Linked DNA regions of Homo sapiens: regions 1 and 2 are each linked to region 3. The links are contacts of gene promoters, found by promoter capture Hi-C in human tissues and cell types (Jung and others, 2019). All regions are on one chromosome and are shown on one strand. The core of a region is centred on a gene start or on the middle of the fragment in contact, and the rest is flanking DNA. Distances in the headings are between cores, read along the strand shown.

Region 1 (4,347 bases), core at 221-2,720, 160 kb after region 3:
CAGGGTTCAGTGAGTCAATGTATGCAGAGTGCTTAAAAGGACTGCCAAACACAGCAGTCAGTGAGTGCTACATAGGCATTAGCTTATTAGGGTGGGAAAAGGGTACTTGAATTCATGCCACGAAGCGTTCATTCTCAGGATTGGTTAACACCTCGCTGTTAGCAGGAGGAAGTGAGAGAAAGTAGACACAGCGGGGCTTAGGGAGATAGTGAATCTGGCAGGTGTGTAGGTTTGGATTGAACACAGGCTCTGTGGTATGTTAGCTGTGAGGCTAGCAAAGGGGAGTATGGGGCGCCCCCGATCCAGAAAGCATATTGCAAAAGGAAAATACAAACTGGAAGCTAAAGGAATGGGCCTCGGTGCTATAGGCCCGCTAGCAGAGGGGGCTGCTGAGCATGTAATGCCCTTCCTGCCTGGGGCTGGAGGGTTGTACCCAGGTGAGGCTCAGAGGGCCAGTCCTCCAGCTGTGGCAGCCTCCAGGGAGCCGAACAATAGAACGTTCATGGATTTGAGCTAGGCTTGCCTTTCACAAGACAGCCCTGGATGGATGGGATGGGACTCTCATTTATGGAAGGCAGGTGCTCTGTTCCTCCTTAGGATCCAACAAGCTTAGAAGGGAATGTTTTCAAAGTAGGGAGTGTCGGATTCACCGTATCCTAATTGCCTGGGGGGTTTATTTATTTATTTATTGACAGAGTTTTGCTCTTATAGTCCAGGCTGGAGTGCAATGGGGCGATCTTGGCTCACTGCAATCTCCAGGGAGGTTTATTAAAATGTAGATTCTTGGGCTTCACCATAGATCCATCAAATCAGATTTTGGGGAGTAAGAGCCCAGGACTCAGCATTTTAAATACACTCCCGAAGGGATCTGATGCATACCATAGTTTGAGAACTGCTTGCTCTAAATAAGTGATACTTTTTTATTTTTAATTTAATTTTATTTAAGTTCTGCGATACATGTGCAGAATGTGCAGGTTTGTTACATAGGTAAACGTGTGCCATGGTGGTTTGCTGCACCTATCAACCCATTACCTAGGTATGAAGCCCTGCATGCCTTAACTTTTTATCCTGATGCTCTCTCCTCCCTACCACCACAGGCCCCATTGTGTGATATTCCCCTCCCTGTGTCCATGTGTTCTCATTGTTCAGCTCCCACTTATGAATGAGAACATCCAGTGTTTAGTTGTCTGTTCCTGTGTTAGTTTGCTGAGGATAATGGCTTCAAGCTCCATCCATGCTCCTGCAAAGGACATGATCTCGTTCCTTTTTATGGCTGTATAATATTCCATGGTGAATATGTTAAATAAGTGATTCTTAATCAACAGTGCACCTCAGAAATGGATGGAGAGCAGTTTCCACATACAAGCATGCCAATCTTGCTCCCTAGAGATTCTGATGCAATAGGGCTGGGGTGGGACAAAGCCCAGGCATATGAACTTTTTTTTAAAAAGATGCTTTTCCAGTGATTGAGTGAATAACAATTTGGCTTGCTTATTGCCTGGTCATACAATACCTGAGAGCTTGTTAAAAATGCAGGTTCCCAGGACTAGTTCTAGAGTTACAGAATGTGCCTCTATGGGGAAGGGGTGATTCTTAGCATTGGCTGAAATTGGGACCCAGGGTACCTACTGCTCTGTGCCCTCTTATTACTCAGGGCCTCCCTGGTGATTATAACAAGGGGGACTCATGTTGACAAGTAACTGCTACGGCCATCCCTGAGCCATGAGGCTCTTTACACTACTTCCTTCATTTACTCCCACAACTACCATGACTTACCATTATTCCTATTTTCCAGATGAGCAAAGTGAGGCCTAGGGAGGAAAGGAAGACAGCAGTGATGCTGAGAAGGGGTGGAGCTCAGAATAAAATCCTAGAGCCACAAAAGTTCTCTTCTAGTCTTCCACTCCAAGCCCAATGTAAGGGAAAAGTGTCATCTTTCGAGGAGAGGTAGTTGAAAGCTTTTGTACAGGTTCAGGGCTGCCATCCCCCATGATGGCTACATGTCATTGACCAGTGGTGTGGTGTATTTGTGTGTGTGTGTGTGTGTGTGTGTGTGTGTGAATGTGTATGTGTGGTGGGAGATGTCTCCCATAGCTAGGGATCCAGGCAGGACCAGCACACATAATACCGTTGCTCACTAACTAACCAATAGCTCAGCAAGGGGAAGTACATAATTCTAGACCATTTGGCCAAGACACGTGATGAGTGTGGGTTTGGGGGGTGGACATTTGGGAAGGTGTTTCCATATGCATTTTCTGTATTAACCAGTAAGACATTCTTAGAATAATTAGGAATTGAATGGTGTGTTCCCCCAACTCCTATGTTAAAGCCTTGGCCCCCAGTACCTCTGAATGTGATATTATTTGATATTATTCTTTGCCTCTGTAAAAACTCTATCTTTTTTTTTTTTTTTTTTTTTTTTGAGACAGAGTCTCACTCTGTCGCCCAGGCTGGAGTGCAGTGGCGTGATCTCGGCTCATTGCAAGCTCCCCCTCCCGGGTTCATGCCATTCTCTTGCCTCAGCCTCCCGAGTAGCTGGGAGTACAGGTGGCCGCCACCATGCCTGGCTAATTTTTTGTATTTTTAGTAGAGACGGAGTTTCACTGTGTTAGCCAGGATGGTCTCAATCTCCTGACCTCGTGATCTGCCCACCTCGGCCTCCCAAAGTGCTGGGATTACAGGCGTGAGCCACCGCACCTGGCCTATCAGATAGACTATTTACAGAGGTACAGAGTCTATCTGTAAACATGTGGACATGTGGGTGGGGGACATCACATACTGGGGCCTGTCAGAAGGTTCAGGTGGGGAGGGAGAGCATCAGGATAAACAGCAAATACATGCGGGGGGTCTTCATACCTAGGTGATGGGTTGATAGGTACAGCAAACCACCATGGCACACGTTTACCTATGTAACAAACCTGCACATCCTGCACATGTAAACTTGAACTTAAAATAAAAAGAAGAGTCTATCTGCAAATAATATCACATTCCGATATTATTATATAACCACATTCTGACCTCAAGTTAGAATGAGGTCGTTAGGGTAAGCCCCAATCCAGTATGACTGATGTTCTTACAAAAGGGGAGGTTTGGACAAAGGAAAGGTGATGTGAAGAGACACAGGGAGAAGGCAGCCATTGACAAGCCCAGGAGAGAGGCCTCCAAAGGGACCCACCCTGCCCACACCTTGATCTTAGACTTTCCGACTCCAGAACCGTGAGACAATAGATTTCTGTCATTTAAGCCATCCTGTCTGTGGTTCTTTATCTTAACAGCCCTAGCAAACAAATACAGGCAGTAATTCTGATTATTACCCCCATTTGACAGGCGAGGTAACCAGTATTCAGAGAGATCATGACCTTCACCCAGAGTCACATGACAGTTAAGTGCAGGTGGCTCCACTAAATCCCAGACGGGCCTGGCTCCAAGGTGCCGGTTTCCTCTGTTCTCTCAATGCGCCCCGATGTGCCACATTATTGAAGCTGGAGGGACAGCGTTCCTGGGAAAACCATTTAGATTTCATTCTCCTTCCTTTCTCTGACAGAAGCTGCTGGTGAGGAAGGTAATGATCTTGATCAAACCATCCCCAGAATGCATGCCTGCCTTTGGAAGGAGCAGACTGGGATGAAATTCTCTACTCTGCGTCTTATCAACCAGAGGACATGAGGCAGGTTTCTTAACCTCTCTCTAGGATTCCGTTTTCTTCTCTGAGAAATGGGCAGATTGGAACGGATCACAGAGGGTGATGGTGAAGACTGAAAACAGCCTAGCACGGTGCTTGGGTACAGCAAGCCTTGGGCGATGGTAGGTGCTACTTTTTATTTCTTGAAATACACTCTGGAGGCTGAGGCAAGAGGATCACTTGAGCCCAGGAGTTTGAGTCCAGTCTGGGCAACACAGTGAGACCCCATCTCAAAAAAAAAAAAAAAAAAAAAAAACACTCAAAATACAGGAAATTAAAGGTGGAAGCAATGATGTGGGTTCAAACACAGAGAGACAACAGAAGAGCCACGAGCCTCTGGTGCCAACACAAAGCCCGCCTAGGCCAGGAAGCTTTAAAATTATCTCCTGGGTAGGGCAGAGCCAAGGGCTGGCGTGGGAGTTGGAAGTCAGAGACAAGAGCCCAGCCTGGCTGTTAGAATGGGTTAGGGCTATGCAAAGAGTAGGCTCTGGACAAACCCTTGCTTCTTCCTAGTCCAAAAAGACTGAGGGCCGCATGGGGTCATACTCTCCATATCGTCTCCTGGTTGACACATTTCCATGTCCCCTCCAAGGCATGGTGCATGGTATGGGGATCGGGGACCTTGTGGTCCCAATGCTCCTGTCTCCACTGGGACTGAAGGAACT
Region 2 (4,636 bases), core at 716-3,215, 140 kb after region 3:
TCAGTTTCCTAATCTGAAAAATGGGGATGATAAGCCATTCTTCATCACCACAGTGGTGGCTGGCATGCTTGATTCCTCTCTCCCCTGAGTCCTGCCAACTCCACCCACTTAATATATCCACATTTCTTACACTTTCTGGCACCATCTTGGTCCAAGTCAAGGTCATTTCCTCTTGGTCCAAGTCAAGGCCTCCTCCCAGATTTCCCTGATTTCTCTCTTGCTCCTTTCTCCAGTCCATTCTCTACACGAGAGCCAGAATTGTCATTTAAAACCAAATCACATCATGTTACCACTCCACTCAAACCATCCACCTGCAAACTCCTCTCTGTGCCCTGAGAAGTGTGCTTGATCTGATCTCTGCTTCTTGCTCCTGCTCTTCTATCCCTCCTTTTGCCTTGACTACCCAGTTCCAGTCACATTGGTTGGCTTTCTATTCCTTAAACACATGGTGCTTCTCTCTACCCCAGGGCCTTTGCACTGGCTGTTACCACTGCTGGGTGTGTTATGCCCTCTGATGTTTGCATGACCCTCTTCTTGTAATTCAGATTTCAGCTCAAATGCCACTTCTACAAATGGCCTCCTTTTCTAAAAAGCTTTCTGCCCTGCCAGTCTCTTTCTTTTGCATTTCTCTGTTTAATTTATTCTCATAGCATTGATTACATTCCAAATGATCTCACTCATTTGCATGTTTTCATGTTTATGGCCTGACTTGCTTATTAGAATGTAAACTTCAAGAGAGCAGGGATCTCATCTACTTTTCCCCCTTGCTCTATCACCAGTGTTTAGTGCAGTGCTTAATGCATACAATGCCCCAGTAGAATTTTGAAATTGAAAAATATTGAAGAGTCATTTGGTAAAGAAAAGCTTCTTTTCTTTCTTCCTATCCTGCTAAGGTCTGAGGGCCCTTAGGTGTAGATTTTTGGTGCAAGTGAATAATACACCTGGTTTGTAGAGAGTTCTAAGAAAACATTGTTTGTTTTAAGTTGCCCTGTTGAGCTTTGCAAGCCTTTTTCTAGGACCAGCCTGACTTTGGTGGCTCTCAGAATGGAGAGCAAGTGTGGGGTCCTGAGTCTCACCCAAGTGACCCCCAACCTGGAAACGTGTGCTTCTGCTTCAGAGGGTTCCTGCAGTAGACACAAAGCCCTTCATCCATTCATTCATTTAACAAGTACTGTGTCGTTGGGGGCTGAGCCTTTGCAGATCCTGGGCTAAGTACCAGGGGTGCAGCACTGAACAAAATGCATGAACCTTCGCCTCCCAACATCTCAGAGCTGGATGTGTTGTGTTCAAAATGGTATTTTATCAGAGCAGCTTAATGGTCCACAGAAGGAGTGCAGGCCCCCACAAATAAATTTTGTTTCCTCAATGTTTTCTCTCTGGGAAAATGGAGACTGCTTACTTGAACAACCTGATCTCTCTTTGTGCCTTGGGCTCTAGTTTTCATAATGGCTGACCCAGGCTTAGGACTCCTGCTGTTGTCTCTACCCTGGGCTTGGCCTATCCCTGACTGTCTGCTCTGCCATTCATCAGGGCTTTGTAACAGCCTGCTTCTTCCTCCAGTGCAAACCTTTGTCCTCTCTTTGGCTGTTCTATTCCCTGTTGGAGCCACGTATCCCCTGATATGGCTTCTGTAGACTGCTTTCTATTCCTACCAGCCACTCAAGTTGGACTTGCAAACAAGGGGCTATATGTAGCTACCCTCTGATTTATTTTGTGTTTTGAAATCCTGAGGAAGAGTTGATTTTAAGAAAGCATTCTGATCAAGTTTCAAAACCACTAATCTGATGAGCTGCATGCACAAATGAGCTCACCCTCCATTTAGCAAAATGCCAGAGCCGTGCCTGGGCCAGCAGTTCTCAAACTGTAGGGTACATGAGGCTCACTGGGGAAGGCTGATAAAATACCAATTCCAGGACCTCACTGCCATGGATTCCAATTTAGTAGGTCTCTGGTGGGACTCAGGAATCTGCAATTCTAATAAACTCCCTGGGGATTCTGATGTAGCTCCAGGGGTAATAAGAAGAATATTTAGCACATATGAGTACCATCGAATCATCAAAGTCTTGGGGCTCCCCCTCTCCCTCTTGCCTAATACCCGGCTTTGACTTTTTGGTTTCTGGATTGTGAGAGGCAAAGGGGATTTTGAGGAGGGATTGTAGCAGCTGGCTAATCAGGGGGATATTTAGTGTTCTCAGGGCAGTGGCAATTACCAACAACTATGGAGGCAGTTCTGTATTGTAATAACTGGGATTATTGCCAAGCTGTTCCCTGATCTGTTGGGTAGACAGTCTGCAAAACACAGTGGCCACAAGGACACTGGGAATCTTGCACTGGTCGCTACCTTTACCTCAGCCAGGAACTGTGTGTTCATGTTGATTAGCTTCCAGAAGGCACTCGTTACCTGCCCCTCAGTAAAAGACTGAAACCATGCTTGTGGCTTCTTTCTGCTCATTGACAGAATTTGTACCTTCAGGAGCTAGTGTGTAGGATTATTGGCCAATTTGCTTGGCTGCAATGAATGGAAAATGCAGTAGCATTGGATGGGACAAAATATAGCTGACCCAGGCTTCCCAAACAGAGACACTCTTTGTAAGTATTTTACCAGGCTCTCAACAAATGAATGCCTCAGTTGTTCTCATCAAAGTCTTCCCAAGCCAAGAACAGTTGGTTTCCTCTGAATTGAGTGTCTAATTTTTTAATAGAAGTGATCTCAAGAGTGCCCCCTTTGTGATGATTTTCTGGTCCTTTGGTGTCTAGAATGTTTGTGGGTACTAAAATGAAGTTTTGTATTTCAGATAAGAGTCTGAGGGAAATGATTGCCCTAATTAAGATATGTGCCCTTCCCCCTATTCTCTAGTCACACCATCTTTTTAAGTTTCCTTTTTAGCTCTATCACTGGCAAAAACTATCTTATTTGTTTACTTGTTTATTGTCGGTCTCCTCCCACTAAAGTTACATAAGAGCAGAAACCTTTTCCTTGGCTGCCACTGTATCACTAATGCCTAGAAGCATCCCTGGCACACGGTAGAGGCTCAAAGAATATTTATAGAATAAACTAATTCAAGGGGCATATTAGTTAAGGTAATGCTGGCTTCTAGAACAGATAAACCCTGGAGTTTCAGGGGCTTAATACTAAAGAAATGAATTTTGCATTCACATAAAGTTCAATTCGGGGTGCCTGGACAGCAGTTGGAGGGTAGAGGTAGACATGGGATGCTCTGCTCCATGCAGTCACTCAAGGACCCAGGATGATGGAGGAACTTCCAACTTTATCATGTGGCTTTCAACATTGACCTGAGTGTCAACATCTAACCAGTAAGTGGTGGGGGGAATGGTGAGGTCAGAGGAGTGGCATATCCCGTGGGAGGTCTCAACAGGCCTGTCCCGGAAGTGGATATATCAGTTCCATCCATATTCTGCTGGGCAGAACTCAGTCATATGGCCACACCTAACTGCAAGGGAGTCTGGGAAATATTGTCTAGCTGAACACCCAGGAGGAAAGAGAAACGGGCTTAGTAAACAGCTAGCTACTTCCCACCACGGGAGGGTATTTGTGGTTTCTCTATGATTCCTGAATTGGATTTTTAAATTCTCCTGTTTCTATCAGGTTGGTGCAAAAGTAATTGCAGTTTTTGCCATGACATTTAATGCAAAACACGTTATATTAATTGCAAAAACCACAATTACTTTTGCACTAACCTAATATGAAGACCCAAAGTTGTCATCTCTACTCCTGCGGTGGGAACTCCTTAACCTCCCACAGCTTGAACTCACTGTCCTGATATCCTCAGAGCTGCATCCCTCCTTGATCTGATGCTCAGTAGTCCAGAGCCATGCACTTTACACTTCAGGTCTTCTGCTGTTCTCTTTGCCTAGAATGCCTTAATAGCTTAGATTTATTGACATTTTACTGACTGATCCTTCAGAGCTCAGCCTGAAATTCCTCTCTCCTGGATATCCCCTGCCATCTCTCCCAGTGGATCTATTCGTTGTCCTTCTGGGGTCCTGTAACCATGGCTCACTTCTCTGCTTCACTTTATTATGCTTCTCCTTGTCCTTACTTGATTATCTATATTGCTTCATCCTAGGCTGGAATAATATTTTATTTCTCTTTGTATCACTTTCCAGAACTTAGCCTGGCCAAAGAAACTTAGCCTGTTTGTGGTCCCCCAGTTAGAAAAGAAGCCTCTGGCTAGAGTTTGAAACTGGCTTATGGGATTTTGAAGACTCAACCTGTGGTCTGTTTCATGAGGTCAAATCTGAAAATCCTCTAGGGAAGGGGTCCTAAAGGAGGTCTAATTGGGTTCCCCCATTTCAGACACGCAAATGTAGAATCCACGTGGCACTTACAGATATCAGGTTGGTGCAAAAATAATTTTCCCAATACATGAATGGCAAAAACTGTGATTACTTTTGCACCAAATTCCTCTGTGGTAGGAAGGACTTGGATTTAGAAAGACATCAGTTTGGGTTCCAGCCCCGCCACTTACTTGTTCTCTGACCTTGGGCAAGTTATTGAACCTTTCTGAACCTCGGTTTCTCATCCATAAAATGATTGTTTTTACAAGACAAATGTTTTATTGAGTGCCTAATAAGTGTTGGCCATAGGGGAGTGAATGAAATGGACATAGATCTT
Region 3 (4,282 bases), core at 341-2,840:
TACTCTCCTATTTTGGGGATTCTATTATAATGAATCTGGTGAATCTGGATTAAACGTGTTCATACCTTCCCCAGATGGGTTTGGAATATAATACTCCTGGGTATGCCCTGTCAATGTCTTGCTGTGTGTTTGCAAATCTTTTTTGAAACATCAAAATGTGACTTTTTTTTTCAAAGAGAAGGGGCGATTAGCCAAACTTCTCATTTGGAGAAAACTTGCAACAGAGTCCCAATAAATCCTCCCACCCTTTCTCAATTCAGGGGACCCTAGTAAACCATTTTACATGTCGCCCAACTTTTCGTTCTCTGAAGATGCCCTGAGAAGCCCTTGACTGCAGCCAAGTGGAGAGGAGGGTTGTGGAAACATTATCTCCTTGCAAATCGCCTAGCAGCCTGCAAAGTGTATACTTAGTTAATGCAATTAAAAAACAAAACGCCGGGGCGTGGGGAGATCTAAATTTGGTGTAGCAGCTTTGGTGCAAATCCTGTTTTGGGGCTACTGGAGTCAAATTCAAGCAGAGGAGAGAAAGAGGTGGGAGAAATGAGAGAGGGCCTCCGGGGAGCTGGAATTCGCTAGGAGAGAGAGGGCAGATTTGGAAACACAGAGGAGACGGGAGGCTGGAAGCTGAGGAAGCAAGGCAGAGCTCTGCAGCCCCCGGTGAGGATTTCCGGGGGGATCCGTGGGGACAGGGGCCAGCCAGCTCCAGAGACCGATGCGCGGGCTCCAGGTCCGGGAGGGTGGCTGAGGCTGGGTGCCCAGGCCTTGCGCTGCGCCAGATCCGGGAGCGCAGAGGCGGCGCCGCGGTGTTCCCTCCTGTGGAGCGCAGAAAACGCTGCGGGGGCGAAGAGGGACAGAAAGCGGCAGGTTCGAGAGGCTGGGGGACTTCCAAGGAAAGACCTTCCAGGACACGCCATAGCCTCGGCCTTGTTCGGCTGTCCCCTCTTACCCCCGACCTTCTTTGATTCGTTCATCCCGAGCCCCTCTCCCCCGGAGGGTGCTTATCCCTGGCTCAGGGGCTTGCCACCTGTCCTTCCCAGCTCCGCCTGGGTCCTTGCTTGGGCCCAGAGAGTTGAGCCATGCGGGTTGCGCTCAGGGCTGGAGGGCGCAGCCGGGAAGGGCAAGGAGGCCCCGCACGCCTGGGAGGGGCGATCCTGACCAGACTGCACCCAGTCTGTCTTGGAGTGAAAGCCATTTAGTCTGTCCCCATCCTCTCCGAGTCATCCTTCCCCTGATGCACAGATTTCGGCCGCCGCTCCTGCACACGCACCGGTGAAAAAGCTACGAGCTGAGCCGCCTCTGCGCTCTGGACAGGGCTGAGCCGCGCCTCCTACCCAGAGAGGGCGCGGGAGGTCCTGCCGCGGTTTTCCACCTGCCTGGAAATCCGAGCGGCTCCTCTAGCCTCGGCTGCTGCCGAGCTCGCTCCTCCCCGTCCGCTCGCCTGGCTCAGCTCTGCACGCCCCCCAGCTAGCTCCCGCTCTAGTCACCTCTTCCCCGCGCCCCCGCCCCTCTAGAGCTCGCGCCCGCCCCCCCCCACCCGCGCCTCCTCTGCCCGCCCTCCTCCCCCTCCCCCTTCCCTCCTGCCCTCCCTTCATTCCACAAGTGTCGCTTCGCTCTCTTCAGCGCACTTGGCGAGCTGGTGAGGTGAGAGGGATACTGCGAGAGGGCTAGGGGCGGCCAGTCCGGGGCTGCCGGCCAAGGCTAGGCGCTGCCAGCCCGATTCTCCTCTGCTCTCCACCCCCGCCTCACCCAGTGGCCGGCCGGACCTGCACCCCGCGCTTGACCCCGCTCATCCTCCCCCCGCCCGGCCGGGCGCGCTCCTCCCCGGCCGGCCCCTCGGCGCGCGGCGCGCTGGAGGCGAACGCGGGCTGAGGCGAACGCGGGCTGAGCCGAGCGCAGTGGCCGCCGACCACCGAGCGCCCCGCGCCGCTCCCTGCATGTGCGGCCCGCGGCGGCTCGCAGCTCCCGGCAGCAGCCTCGGCAGCTTCGGCCGCGCCTCGAGAGGCGGCCGCAGAGGCTCCAGCGGCGGCCGAGCGGCCGAGCCCGGGCTGGGAGACACCATGCGCCGCGTCCTTCGGCTGCTCCTCGGTTGCTTCCTCACCGAGCTGTGCGCCCGCGTGTGCCGGGCGCAGGAGCGAGCGGGACACGGGCAGCTGGCGCAACTGGGCGGCGTGTTGCTGCTGGCGGGGGGCAACCGCTCCGGGGCCGCCTCCGGAGAGGCCAGCGAGGGCGCTGAGGCATCGGACGCGCCCCCGACCCGGGCGCCCACGCCGGACTTCTGCCGGGGCTACTTCGATGTCATGGGCCAGTGGGACCCGCCGTTCAACTGCAGCTCGGGCGACTTCATCTTCTGCTGCGGGACTTGTGGCTTCCGGTTCTGCTGCACGTTTAAGAAGCGGCGACTGAACCAAAGCACCTGCACCAACTACGACACGCCGCTCTGGCTCAACACCGGCAAGCCCCCCGCCCGCAAGGACGACCCCTTGCACGACCCCACCAAGGACAAGACCAACCTGATCGTCTACATCATCTGCGGGGTGGTGGCCGTCATGGTGCTCGTGGGCATCTTCACCAAGCTGGGGCTGGAGAAAGCGCACCGGCCCCAAAGGGAGCACATGTCCAGGTGGGCTGCCTCCCCTTCGCCCTCCCCTCGGGGCTTCGCTCTCCCTGCTCTCTCCTCCCCACCTTCCCCCAGGCAATGGCGCTCCCCACGGTCCCCGCTCCCCGCATCCCAGCCTCTCCGCTGGGGGATGTCACCGGGAAGCCAACTTCGGCTTGGAACACGGAGAAGGGGCGCTGGGCTCAGCACAGGTGTGGGTCTGAGCGTGTTCGTGTGTGTGTGAGCGTGTGTGTGTGTGTGTGTGACTCTGCTCCCTCACCCTCTGGCCGCCTCCTCCCGCTGGTGACTGAGGCGGACTTGAGACACGTAGCCTGGGAGCCCGTGGCCCCGAAATCTTCGGGTTTGGGGAGAGGGTCCATGGCACCCCTCGGATTCCAGGTGCTAGCTTTTTGGTAAACAGGGGCAGGCGAGCCCGAAAGGGGAGGGGGGCGTGTGTGAGCCCGAGCGCGCGTGTGTGAAGGAGGGAGGGTCAGAGTGAGTGCCGCCTGCAACTCGTACGACTCGCGAAAAGGAGACGAGGGAGGTGGAGTGAGGGGAGGGCGAGAACAAAAGCCTTGCTTGGAGCGGCCGCCTCGCTTTCCCAGAGCTTCGCCGTCCCTGGATTTGGGACCTCAGCTGCCCCCGCCCCTTTACCCACCTCATCCCTTTCTCTGGCCACCACTTCTCCCTGCCCGGGGCCGTGGCCATCGCTGCAGATTGAGCCCCTTGCCCTGGCTGGCGTGGACTCCGGGGGCCCGAGCCCCCTCCTCGCGCGCCCTCACTTCCAAGCACCCTGATTTCGTCAACTTTCGGGTTTGCCTTGTTCATTATGCAAGCCCCAGCACCAGCTAGTTCCAGCAGATGGGAGAAGGCTTTGGGGGATTAATGGAGCTATTTGCCTTTTGCTTTTTTTAAATTTTTTTTATTTTAAGTGTCTAAATCGATTCGCAAACTCCGTAACTTTGGAGGCGGAGGACGCAGCCACTAGGAGCACTAAGCCCCCGGCCGCGGGAGAGGCTGGGGGTTGGCGTGAGGTCCGGGCGGGCGGGGTGGAAGGAGTGACTAGCGGCCTGCGAACAGCTGGATGGTTGGGGCATAAGCTTTAACTGTCCCCTTTCAGAGTCTGGGCAACGAAGTCGCTGTATTTTTCTCTACCCTCTCCCCACCCCTTCTTCCGCGCCCCCTCTGCCGGGGGCCTGTGTGTGTGCGCGCGTGTGTGCACGCGCTCCGTGTGATGCCTAAAAAATCTGAACAAAGAGACCCACCAAAAATAGGCAAAGGAACATCACCACCTCACTAGTAATTATTTTCTATTTATACGCAGAGTATCCGATGAGATTTTTTTTTTTCCCCCAGAGAGAAGAGATTTTGGGGGAAGAGGTGAGGAAGTTCTCGGTTTGGGTCAGCAGGGAGCTGTGGGTGGATGGTGGGGTCTTGCTGCACAGAAGTAAGCTCCGAGGGGCTTCAAAGAAACCCTGACCTACTAAAGGAGTAAAGCTCTGGCCCCGCCCACCTTCCGCAACCACAGGGTGGCCTGTCCCCAGCCCCACCGGCCAGGCCAGTCCCTGTTAATTCCCCGGGTCTGTGTTAAGATGAGGGGAGAAGTGGTCTCAGGACTGAGGCAGCGGGTGTCGCCTTGGTAGGGAAAGATTGACTCCGAGACAGGTAGGCTGCCTTGCAGATTTG

What was found. Contacts are between HindIII fragments. The study calls those that stand out against the background at their distance.
Region 1: a fragment that was not itself captured here is called in contact with the fragment with the promoter of SHISA9 in region 3 in 5 of the 25 tissues and cell types used here (adrenal gland, dorsolateral prefrontal cortex, mesendoderm cells and 2 more).
Region 2: a contact is called between a fragment that was not itself captured here and the fragment with the promoter of SHISA9 in region 3, in 3 of the 25 tissues and cell types used here (H1 embryonic stem cells, dorsolateral prefrontal cortex and mesendoderm cells).

The regions. Positions count from the first base shown.
Region 1 is chr16:13,056,724-13,061,070 of GRCh38, forward strand. All of the region lies in intron 2 of SHISA9 (shisa family member 9), which reads left to right. Among named protein-coding and RNA genes, the nearest start is that of SHISA9, 160 kb to the left of the region's middle. The HindIII fragment of the contact is 3,069 bases long and covers 1-3,005 here.
Region 2 is chr16:13,039,872-13,044,507 of GRCh38, forward strand. The region is part of intron 2 of SHISA9 (shisa family member 9); the gene reads left to right. Among named protein-coding and RNA genes, the nearest start is that of SHISA9, 140 kb to the left of the region's middle. The HindIII fragment of the contact is 5,855 bases long and covers 1-4,636 here.
Region 3 is chr16:12,900,008-12,904,289 of GRCh38, forward strand. SHISA9 (shisa family member 9) reads left to right here and starts at 1,591. Exons shown (of 5, transcript NM_001145204.3): 1 at 1,591-2,620. The coding sequence starts at 2,058. The HindIII fragment of the contact is 6,671 bases long and covers 1-4,282 here.